2 separate regions of the Homo sapiens genome follow, and region 1 is linked to region 2. The links are contacts of gene promoters, found by promoter capture Hi-C in blood cells and fetal thymus (Javierre and others, 2016). All regions are on one chromosome and are shown on one strand. Each heading gives the region's core, a stretch centred on a gene start or on the middle of the fragment in contact. The rest is flanking DNA. Distances are from core to core; before and after follow the strand shown.

Region 1 (4,653 bases), core at 1-2,500, 660 kb before region 2:
TGGCGGGGAGACAGACTGGAGGAGGGGAGAAGGGGGCAAGGCCTTTTCCCTGCCCCCTCCCTGCCCCCTCCGCCGCAGGCTGCCGCCGGTACCTCGTGCGTGGTTACTATGCAAATTGCAGCGATTGCGGAAATAAACAAGGGAGTTGGGAGAGGAGAGAGGGACTGCCGAATCGATTGCAACTTCTGCAAAGTCTCGTACAATCCAAAGCACGCAAGGCAAAACCAGAGCGAATCTGAGAACCAGCCAGCCCGGGTTGGATCGCTTTCAAAAGAGAGAGTGAGAGCGAGCGAGCGAGCGAGCGAGAGCGAGACAGTGAGAGAGGGAGAGAGCGCGCCTTGCAATTGCAAAAGCCTTCTGATTTGGAGTTAAAAAAAAAATTCTCCAAGAAGCCTGCAATTGGCCAACAGCTTTTTAAAAAATCTCTTCCGGGTTTTCAACGGTTCCAAGTTTATTTAGATATTTTTTAAATGCAAAAAAAAGGGGACAACAAATGAAGCAATTCGTCTGAGCATTTTAAAGTTTCTCACGTACTCTTTTTACATTGCAATGGTACGTGGTACATCTTAAACTTTCTATTTTGCATTTATATGATATGCGTTTTATAAACAATGGTAGAATGATTTTGTTTAATGGCTAAGACTAAAATTTCTCTAGCTCGCATATGCACTTAAGTGATTGCTGGGTAAATGTCTATTGTGATGGTTTTGTTTTAAAGATGTAGCTTTGTTGATGGTGTTTTTGCTATGTGCATCAGAGACCGGGTTTTCTTTTTCTTTTTTTTTTTTTTCGGGATTTGAAAAAATTGCTGAGCTTGACAGATTTTTTTTTCCTCCTAGCGCTTGCTCGGTTCCAGAAAGGGGTGGGGGGAAATCCTGTACGTGCTCTGTTCTGTAAAAGACGTCTGGCCTCAGCAGTCAACCTAACCCGAAAAGAAATGTCTGGACCCGGAGAATAATTGACGATTTGATCCTCTAATCAATGGGACAACTTGGGAGATTGACAAAAGCTTTATCCAATCATAAGGAAGCTTGGGTGTACAATAGTTCTCAATAGCCAGAGGGGGCGGGGCAGAGGAGATCTGAAGTTCTCTGCAGCTCTGAAGGGGATGGTGTGGTTCAAGCTGTCAAAGCTACAAGCGCTTCCGGATTTAGCAAGCACAATAGGAAAGAATTTTCGCGTTTAAGAAAAAAAAAAAAGCTGATCGGGGGAGTTTTGCATGAATCGTGTGCCTTCTTCCTTGTCTTTTGGAAAAAGAAACATTCTGCTAGAGAAATAACTTTGTATTGTTATTAACTTTGCATTAGCTATTATTTTTATGCTCAGGGAAGCTGGTAACTTGTGGAATGTGAAGTTCAACTTTAAGAAACGTGTGGCTTAAATCTTGCCTGAATTGTGGGACTGTAGTGAGCTTTGGGAAGTAATATATTGCGTATTCAGCATTACAAAACTTCTTACTCTGATTATCTTAGAAGCTTTGGCATTTCAAGTACTTTGAAATTAATAGGTAAACCTCTCTTCTTGAACTCTAAACAACAGTTTTAAAGGAGAGAATGTTTCACATGTGGACTAGCAGCTGTCTTACACACTTGAAAGAAATTAGGGGAGTGTTTTTTCTTGGCTATTCTTGAATTCTGCTTTTTAAGTATATGGTCAGTAGGAAATAGGACGTTAAGACTGGCCAAGTTCACGTTTCTCCTTGTTACCACAACAACCCCCGTGGAGAGTGTATGGAAGATCGCTGACTTGCTAACTGTTAGTTGGAGTCTGGCCTCTTGGACAAGTGCTTGATACAAATCCAGTGGAAACCAACTGCAGTAGCTTGTCTTGGAGACAGTAACTGGCAGCCTCTGACTAAAATATCTCCATCTCCTCCTCTCTGAGCAGCGTAGACACCCAATTCTGTTGGGAAGTGAATGGAAAATAATATGGGCTCTTTCCCTTCTTTGGATTAAATTCCCATCGAGCTATTTCCCAAGGCTTTAGGCCTTCCAGTCAAATCTGGCTTGGAAATTTGATGTAAGAATTCACTTGGACACTCACTTCAGCAACATGATTCAATTTAGGATTATATGCACATAAGAAAAATCTGCACAGAAGTGACCAGCAGGTCAAAAACCAGAGAAGAAAAAATGTTGAAAAATGCCAGTTAATAAAGTTAGTTTTGGTAAGAACTACAGAGTTATGGTGTTGTCGCTTATGAATCCCAGTCCTATCTTCACTGCTTTGGGTATTAAAATCTAAATCATATTAATAAGATCTCCCTATTAAGTAACCTCCAAAATGAGAGCTATTTGAGATGTACATATAAGTGAAACCTTATTGACGTAATTTATATATCTAAGAGGATTTCACTAAAGCTGGCAAGGTAACGTTTCTGCAAATAAAACACAGTAAATGCAAGGCTGGGCTCTGTGCCAGGAAGAATATGGATAGCAGAGAGCATGACAGGAGCCTCCTTTGCGCAGAGACAATCCCATTTCAAGGCAGCCTCCTACCACTTGGAAAATAAATGATTGGAGAGGTTATTTCCAATAAGGGGTTTATCCTTCCTAACAATGGGTCATTTATATGATTGCAGTGAACTAGTTTCCATACTTCACCTGCGTTTCCTCCACTGCTCTCTCTACTATCCTTTCTTTCTTCCCTCCTCCTCCATCCCTGCTCTCTCTCAAGTGCCTTAGTATCTTTGTGAACTCTGGACAAGGATTTACTTTTGCAACTTGGGAAGAGGGGAGAGGGTTGGAAATGTTTTTTACCCCCAGTCTGCCCTTTGAGGAACATCTGTTTCTTTGTGCGTGTGTTTAAATTTATGCCTGTTGGAGAGAAAGTTACCAGAAGCCTTTCTGTAACTGTAACTCTTCTACTGTATTTTTCTCAGTCTTGTTTCCAAAGGCTGTAGTTGGAACTGTGCTTTGTAGTGTTCCCCCGCCTCCCCCCCTCCCTCCGCGGGGGAGGGAGCGGGAGCTGGCGGAGATAGGAGAGAAAGCAGGAGCGGATGTGAAGGGCTTTGGTGCTGAACTTGGATCCAGCCCTTGCCTAGAGGGCGCAAACAATCGTCCCATATCCAAAAGTCTTACGAAGGGCGCCAAAAGTTACTTAAGATAATATTGCTAACCGCAGAAAGCTGGAAATCGCGGGGCACATCCACTGCTGCAACAAAAGAAGTTTTTAAAGTAGAAATATCAGCATTAAATTACTTCCCCCATTAAAAAAAAAAAACAGGGCGACATGCCAGTCCTTTTTAAAAAAAATCTTTTTTTTCCTTGAGACTCAAAAGTAAGAATCTTTGCCGTTTTGAAAATAGGCAGATGTGAAGTGTATCTTTTAATACACCAAAAGAAAGATTTTAATCTGCTCTGGAAGAGAGCTTCCCGAGTACACACTCTGAACAATAACTTTTCACTGTGCCTCAGTTACATGTTGGGACCGTCAGCCAGAAACTTCTATCGAGGAAACTTGGAGCGCATTGAAGTTATAGATCCCAGCAAAGGTTCTCGTGGCCAGGGATGTTGTCTCTGTAACACAGCTTGGCTTTTAGGACATTCCTCCCCTACTAAAATCTGAGAGGAACCAAGGAAAAGCAGTGGGTTAAGTTTGGGAAAATGGACTCTCTCATTAAAGGCTGAAATCATTATTTCTCCTCACTCCTTAGTAAATAATCTTGAGAGATTTCCAAGGATGTTCAGGAGGGAGGGTGGGAGAGAGAATGGTTCTTGAGCATTCGGGAATTATTTTGGCAATAAAGTAACTAAAGTACAAGCATAAAATAACTTTAGACAGATGCAGAATTATTTCAGAGGTTCTCTTTTGCTCTTTCTCCAGTACAGTATTTCCTGCCCCTTGCTTTGAAAAGAAGTCTGAATGAGAGTGGCCTTAACACATCACTCACCCTCACTTGTTAACACATCACTTACCCTCACTTTCCTACAGGAATGTCCCCTCTTTAGAGACTCTCTGGTTATGTCACCTCCACCGAAGGGCAGATTCCCCTGTGTGCCAGTGTCTTTCAACATGATACCTACCTCTTTCCTTTTGGAATTTTGAGAAGGGTTGTCAAATGCAGCATTTTGCAAACCATCATGAGGAAGAGAAGTAAAATAAGGGATGGGGGCTTAGAAGAGGCAGGTAGGCTTTCCCCCCTCCGAGAGAGGAGAGCCTAGAGAGAAAATATGAGGTTAAAAAAAAAAAACTGGAAAAGCAGGCTTACTGGCAACTTGCCAAACCCTAAAAACCACCCCCCTCTTTTCTGCCAAAACAATACTTTAGCAAACCTAAAATAATTGCAGGAAGCTCTTTTCCATTTTAAGAACTATTACCTGGGGGAGGGAAAAAAGGGATTCTTAAAAGGCACCCTTCCAGAGGTGTCCCAGAAACTGGGACGGTAATGATAGCCTATGTCCAGTTCTGGGCACGCGTTTGTGGATCAGAATATCTCCCTTCCCTAAGGGGACATCCCTTTCACATATTTTTTTCCTCCTAAAAAGTAAAAGATGTCACAGCTAAACCACTGTTGTTTCTGAACGTGATAGAACTTTTTCTATGGCGTCTGTGTTCAAACCCACTAGTTTCACAGTCCTGGGAGGGATAACGCTCATTAATCTCCGCCTTCTTTTCTCCAGACCCCCGCCCCCCAAATCCGGTGAATCTTCT
Region 2 (4,175 bases), core at 1-2,500:
GTCTCTCTCTGTCACCCAGGCTGGAGTGCAGTGGCAGGATCTTGGCTCACTGCAACCTCTGCCTCCTGGGTTCAAGTGATTCTCCTGCCTCAGCCTCCTGCGTAGAGGGGACTACGCATCCACCACACCCGGCTAATTTTTGTATTTGTAGTAGAGACGGGGTTTCATCATATTGGTCAGGCTGGTCTCGAACTCCTGACCTCGGGTGATCCACCCGCCTCGGCCTTCCAAAGTACTGGGATTACAAGCGTGAGCCACCGCGCCCCGCCTGAAAGTCTTTATGTTGTAGTTGTTTTGTATCTATTCCTCATCTTCCTGGGGACAGGGATACCATTTTACACATCTTCCCACAATCAATCACAGTGTTTAACAATTACTGTATGTACTCTATGAATAAGATACCTGAAGATTGATTCTCTTTATCGTTAATGTGTGGACTGTATCAGGCAAAGTAAAACCCCTATCATCAAAAGCCTAAAGTTATTAAAGGGAGTGGAAGAAGGCTATCGGGACATATTTTTCTCGAAGGTGTGACATCACAAATAAAAGAAAATTAACGTATAGTGAAATCATCACTGTAGTTAGAGTCAAAATGCCTTGCCTGTGTTCCAAACTTTGGGCCAGTCAACCTACAGGGTGCACGGTTTCCTCATTAGTTTCTTCAGAGAGTAAATGAGACATTGCATAAGCTAGCACCTAGCATACAGCAGGCAAATACTGCTGGATTTCTTTCTTCCACTAAATGAGAAGAAAATAATGACTCCCACATTTACACGTTTTAGAATATTTTATTTTGCGTCAGCGAATAGAGAAAACAAAGGAGGGATGAGAGAACAGGAAAGGAAAGGGGCAAAAAGACAAAGTGTTAAGCGGATTGACCCAACGCTTTCATCGATATCCTCCTCAATTTCCTTGATCTTGGGTCTCGCTCTACACGCAGGCCTCCAACCACACCGGTCTGTCCGGATCTCCCTCCCCGTCAGTGGCGGCTGTCCCCACCACGCGCGGTCTGATCCGCCACCCCGCCCCCACAGCCCACTTTTCCCAGGCCCTTGGCCATCCCGCGCCCGGTAGGAATTCACCTGCACGTAAACAGCCAGGGCAACCGTCCTCCCTCCTTGGAGCCCGCCTCCCGCGGCCCCGGGCTCCCTCCCCCGCCCCCTGCGCCACCCCGGTGCCCCGCCCCGGGCGGGGAGAGTCGGGGCGAGGGGAGGGCCTGCCAGGTGAGGCGCGGTCACCCTGGGCCTCTCACTTCCGCCCAGGTGAGGCAGGGCCGACACCGAGCCCGCCCGACCCGGGCTCCCACCTGCTCCTCCAGCGCACCAGGTAAAGCGTGAGGTCCCGGCTGTGCAGTGCGCGCTCGCCCCTGGGTGTCCCCGCGCCTGGAGGCCGGCCGGGGGCAGCTCCCTCGGGGCTTCCCGGGCCTGCCTGCCCTGCCCCCGCGCTCTCCCCGCCCGCCCGCCTGGAGTGGGTGGGAGCCGGAGGTGGAGGGCGCCGCCGGGCGCTCAGAGGGGCCGCGGCGAGGATGGGGCGCCCGCGGCGTGCGTCCGCGCTGACCCGGGAGGCGGGGCGGGGGCGCCGTCCTCCTGCGTCGGGCCCGGGTGACCCCACGGTGGTCCCCGCCCCGCCGCGCAGGGCTCGCCGAGGCCGCGGGCAGGGAGGGGCGCCGCCCCGCCTCCCCAGGCCTTTCGGGCCTCGAATCTCGGCCCACTGGTATTCGGGGGTGGCACGGATCCTATTTTGCGCCCAGATCGGTGCCCCTGTTTCGCTCCCAGAGCTGGGCGGAGTCTTTCCCTCCATCGGTGGCCGTGGAAGGAGGGAACGGGGTGAGGGGACAAAGAGGAGGGGGTGCTCAGAGCCGGGCTGAGGGGGCGACTTGGGCCCGGCCGCGTCGCGGCGCCTGGTCATCCCGTAGCGGAGGTTCCCAAGCCAGCGGTCAGGCCCTGGGCTCTGCCAGCCTTGCTGCGTAGATGGGGAGGTTCTGTCGGAAAGTGCTTCCAGCCTTAGGGGAAATTCCTGGACTCCTGCTTTTAAATCAAGCTCAGGAAAGCATTTTCAGATCACTCCCACTCTCCAAAGCGCCCCAGCCGTCCCGCACGCAGGCCGAATTAAGTGAACACCCCTTCACTTGGCACTTTGTCATATTTCCAAGTGGCTCTTGTCACTTTGAATTCCAGTTGGTTGTTTACTGGCTTGCCTCTGCCATTTAGAGGGTGCCCCTTTCAGGGCCTTATTTTTCGACTGCATTTAGGGTCTGGCTATTGGTAGGTGCGCGACAAGTGTTTCTTAAAGGAAGGCAGAAGCCTTTGGAAACCCAGAAGGACAATGTCGGTTCCACTGAGGATGATACTACCACATTCTGGGCTAAATTCCTATTGGCTGCAAATTAATTTGCACACATCTATTTGAAAGGAGTGGAGGCAGGGGCAGCGGTTAAAAACTTAAATCTGTTTGCAGCATTAGAAAATGTTAGGTGAGATTGAGCCTTTTAGCTAAAGTGAGCTTTGATGTTTTTAGGGCCCCTAATGGCCTTTAAGATGTTAACAATAACAACAACAACAAAACACTCCAAATGTGTTGAATTTATTTGGGAATGAGAAATGAGCGTTATAGCCCGAGGTGCACAGGCCTGGCAAGCCATATATGCATGGAAGAGGGGAGGGTAAAAGGAAACTTTTATTGGCAAAGTAAGTGCAGATAAGCTGCGTGAAAACAGAGTTTATTGGTTTTGCAGACTGAAAGCCAGAGTTGGCCATTGTTGAAGATGCCATTACTGGGCAGGTGTTATGGAGAGCATCTTATCAGGCCTGGCAACCTGCCTCATGCCTGTTATCTCAGCTACTTAGGAGGCTTAGGCAGGAGGATCGCTTGAGGCCAAGAGTTGGAGACCAGCCTGAGCAACATGGCTGTCTTTACAGAAAAAGCTTTTTAAATAGTCAGGTGTGTCGGGAGGTTGAGGCAGGGGAATTGCTTGAGCCCAGGAGATGGAGGCTGTGGTGAGTGGTGTTTGCACCACTACACTCCAGCCTGGGTGACAGAGCAAGAACCCTGTCTCAAAAAAAAAAAAAAAAAAAAAAGGAAAAAAGATTATCTTATCTTATCTTATCTGAATTACTGCATTCCTAAAGAAAGAATTTCTTGGGTGGTTATTTTAGTTCCTTCTTGAGACCGATCTTTATCTCAGACTTGCAAGCATGAGCTTTCTCCCTCAGGCTCTCTAGTTTGTTTGGGTTTGACAAAAAGTGATTTTGACCTGGTATCTGCAACTTTCACAAAGATAATAACAAAGTTAATAAATATGGAAATACTTATGGATAGAACTTATAAAATGAGTTCTGAAGAGATTTGCCCTTACTAGTCCAGATCCTATTAGGAGTAAGAGAAAAAACACAAACTTTTTCCTCTGCTCTCACACCACTACAGTCAACACTGAGGACTTCTGTGACCAAATAAATGTGTGGGCCCATCAGTTCTGCATCAAGCAATAGCTGAGCATCTAACAGTTCGATTCTGAAACTATTTACCTGGGGATAGTGTCAGATCCCATAAGACTGCCCTCACTTCTGATGCCAATCACAAGTCCTAGATTGTTTTACCCCGGCTTCTGACTAACCACCTATAAATTGGGAATCCCATAACTCCCTCCTCTGGGTTGGTTAACTTGCTAGAGCAGCTCACGGAACTCAAGAAAACACTTATTTAGGTTTATTACTAGTTTATTATTAAGAATATTACAGAGGATACAAGAGGAAGAGATGCACAGGGTGAGGTATGAGAAGGGGCATGCCACCCTCCAGGAACCTCCATGTGTTCAGATATTGAGAAGCTCTCCCTACCCCATCTTCTTGGGCTTTTTATGGAGACTTCATTGAGTAGACATAATTGAAGCATGGGGTAGGGAAACCCAGCAATGCCTATCTGTTCAGATTTTTCTTGGCCTCTCTCTGTAGCATTCCTTCCTCCAGGGTATGGGCAGGACCCCTTCTTATGGGGGTCTTATGACCTACAATCAGACAAGGGAGATCAGATAATTTTTTTAAATATTTATTTATTTATTTATTTTGAGACAGAGTCTTGCTCCGCTGCCCAGGCTGGAGTGCAGTGGGTGATCTCAGCTCACTGCAACCTCCACTTCCCGGGTTCAAGTGATTGTCCTGCCTCAGACTCCTGAGTAG

The links. The method cuts DNA at HindIII sites, captures the fragments that hold promoters and counts their contacts. A CHiCAGO score of 5 or more calls a contact.
Region 1: a fragment that was not itself captured here is called in contact with the fragment with the promoter of PATJ in region 2 in 1 of 17 cell types (total CD8 T cells); the score reaches 7.3 in total CD8 T cells.

The regions. Positions count from the first base shown.
Region 1 is chr1:61,077,077-61,081,729 of GRCh38, forward strand. It overlaps a transcript of NFIA not described here. Among named protein-coding and RNA genes, the nearest start is that of NFIA, 3.2 kb to the right of the region's middle. The HindIII fragment of the contact is 445 bases long and covers 1,029-1,473 here.
Region 2 is chr1:61,741,230-61,745,404 of GRCh38, forward strand. It overlaps PATJ (PATJ crumbs cell polarity complex component), which reads left to right and starts at 1,251. Exons shown (of 44, transcript NM_001350145.3): 1 at 1,251-1,326. PATJ-DT (PATJ divergent transcript) reads right to left here and starts at 1,555. Exons shown (of 1, transcript NR_185910.1): 1 at 769-1,555. RefSeq lists a silencer at 1,003-1,712. The HindIII fragment of the contact is 6,850 bases long and covers 1-2,922 here.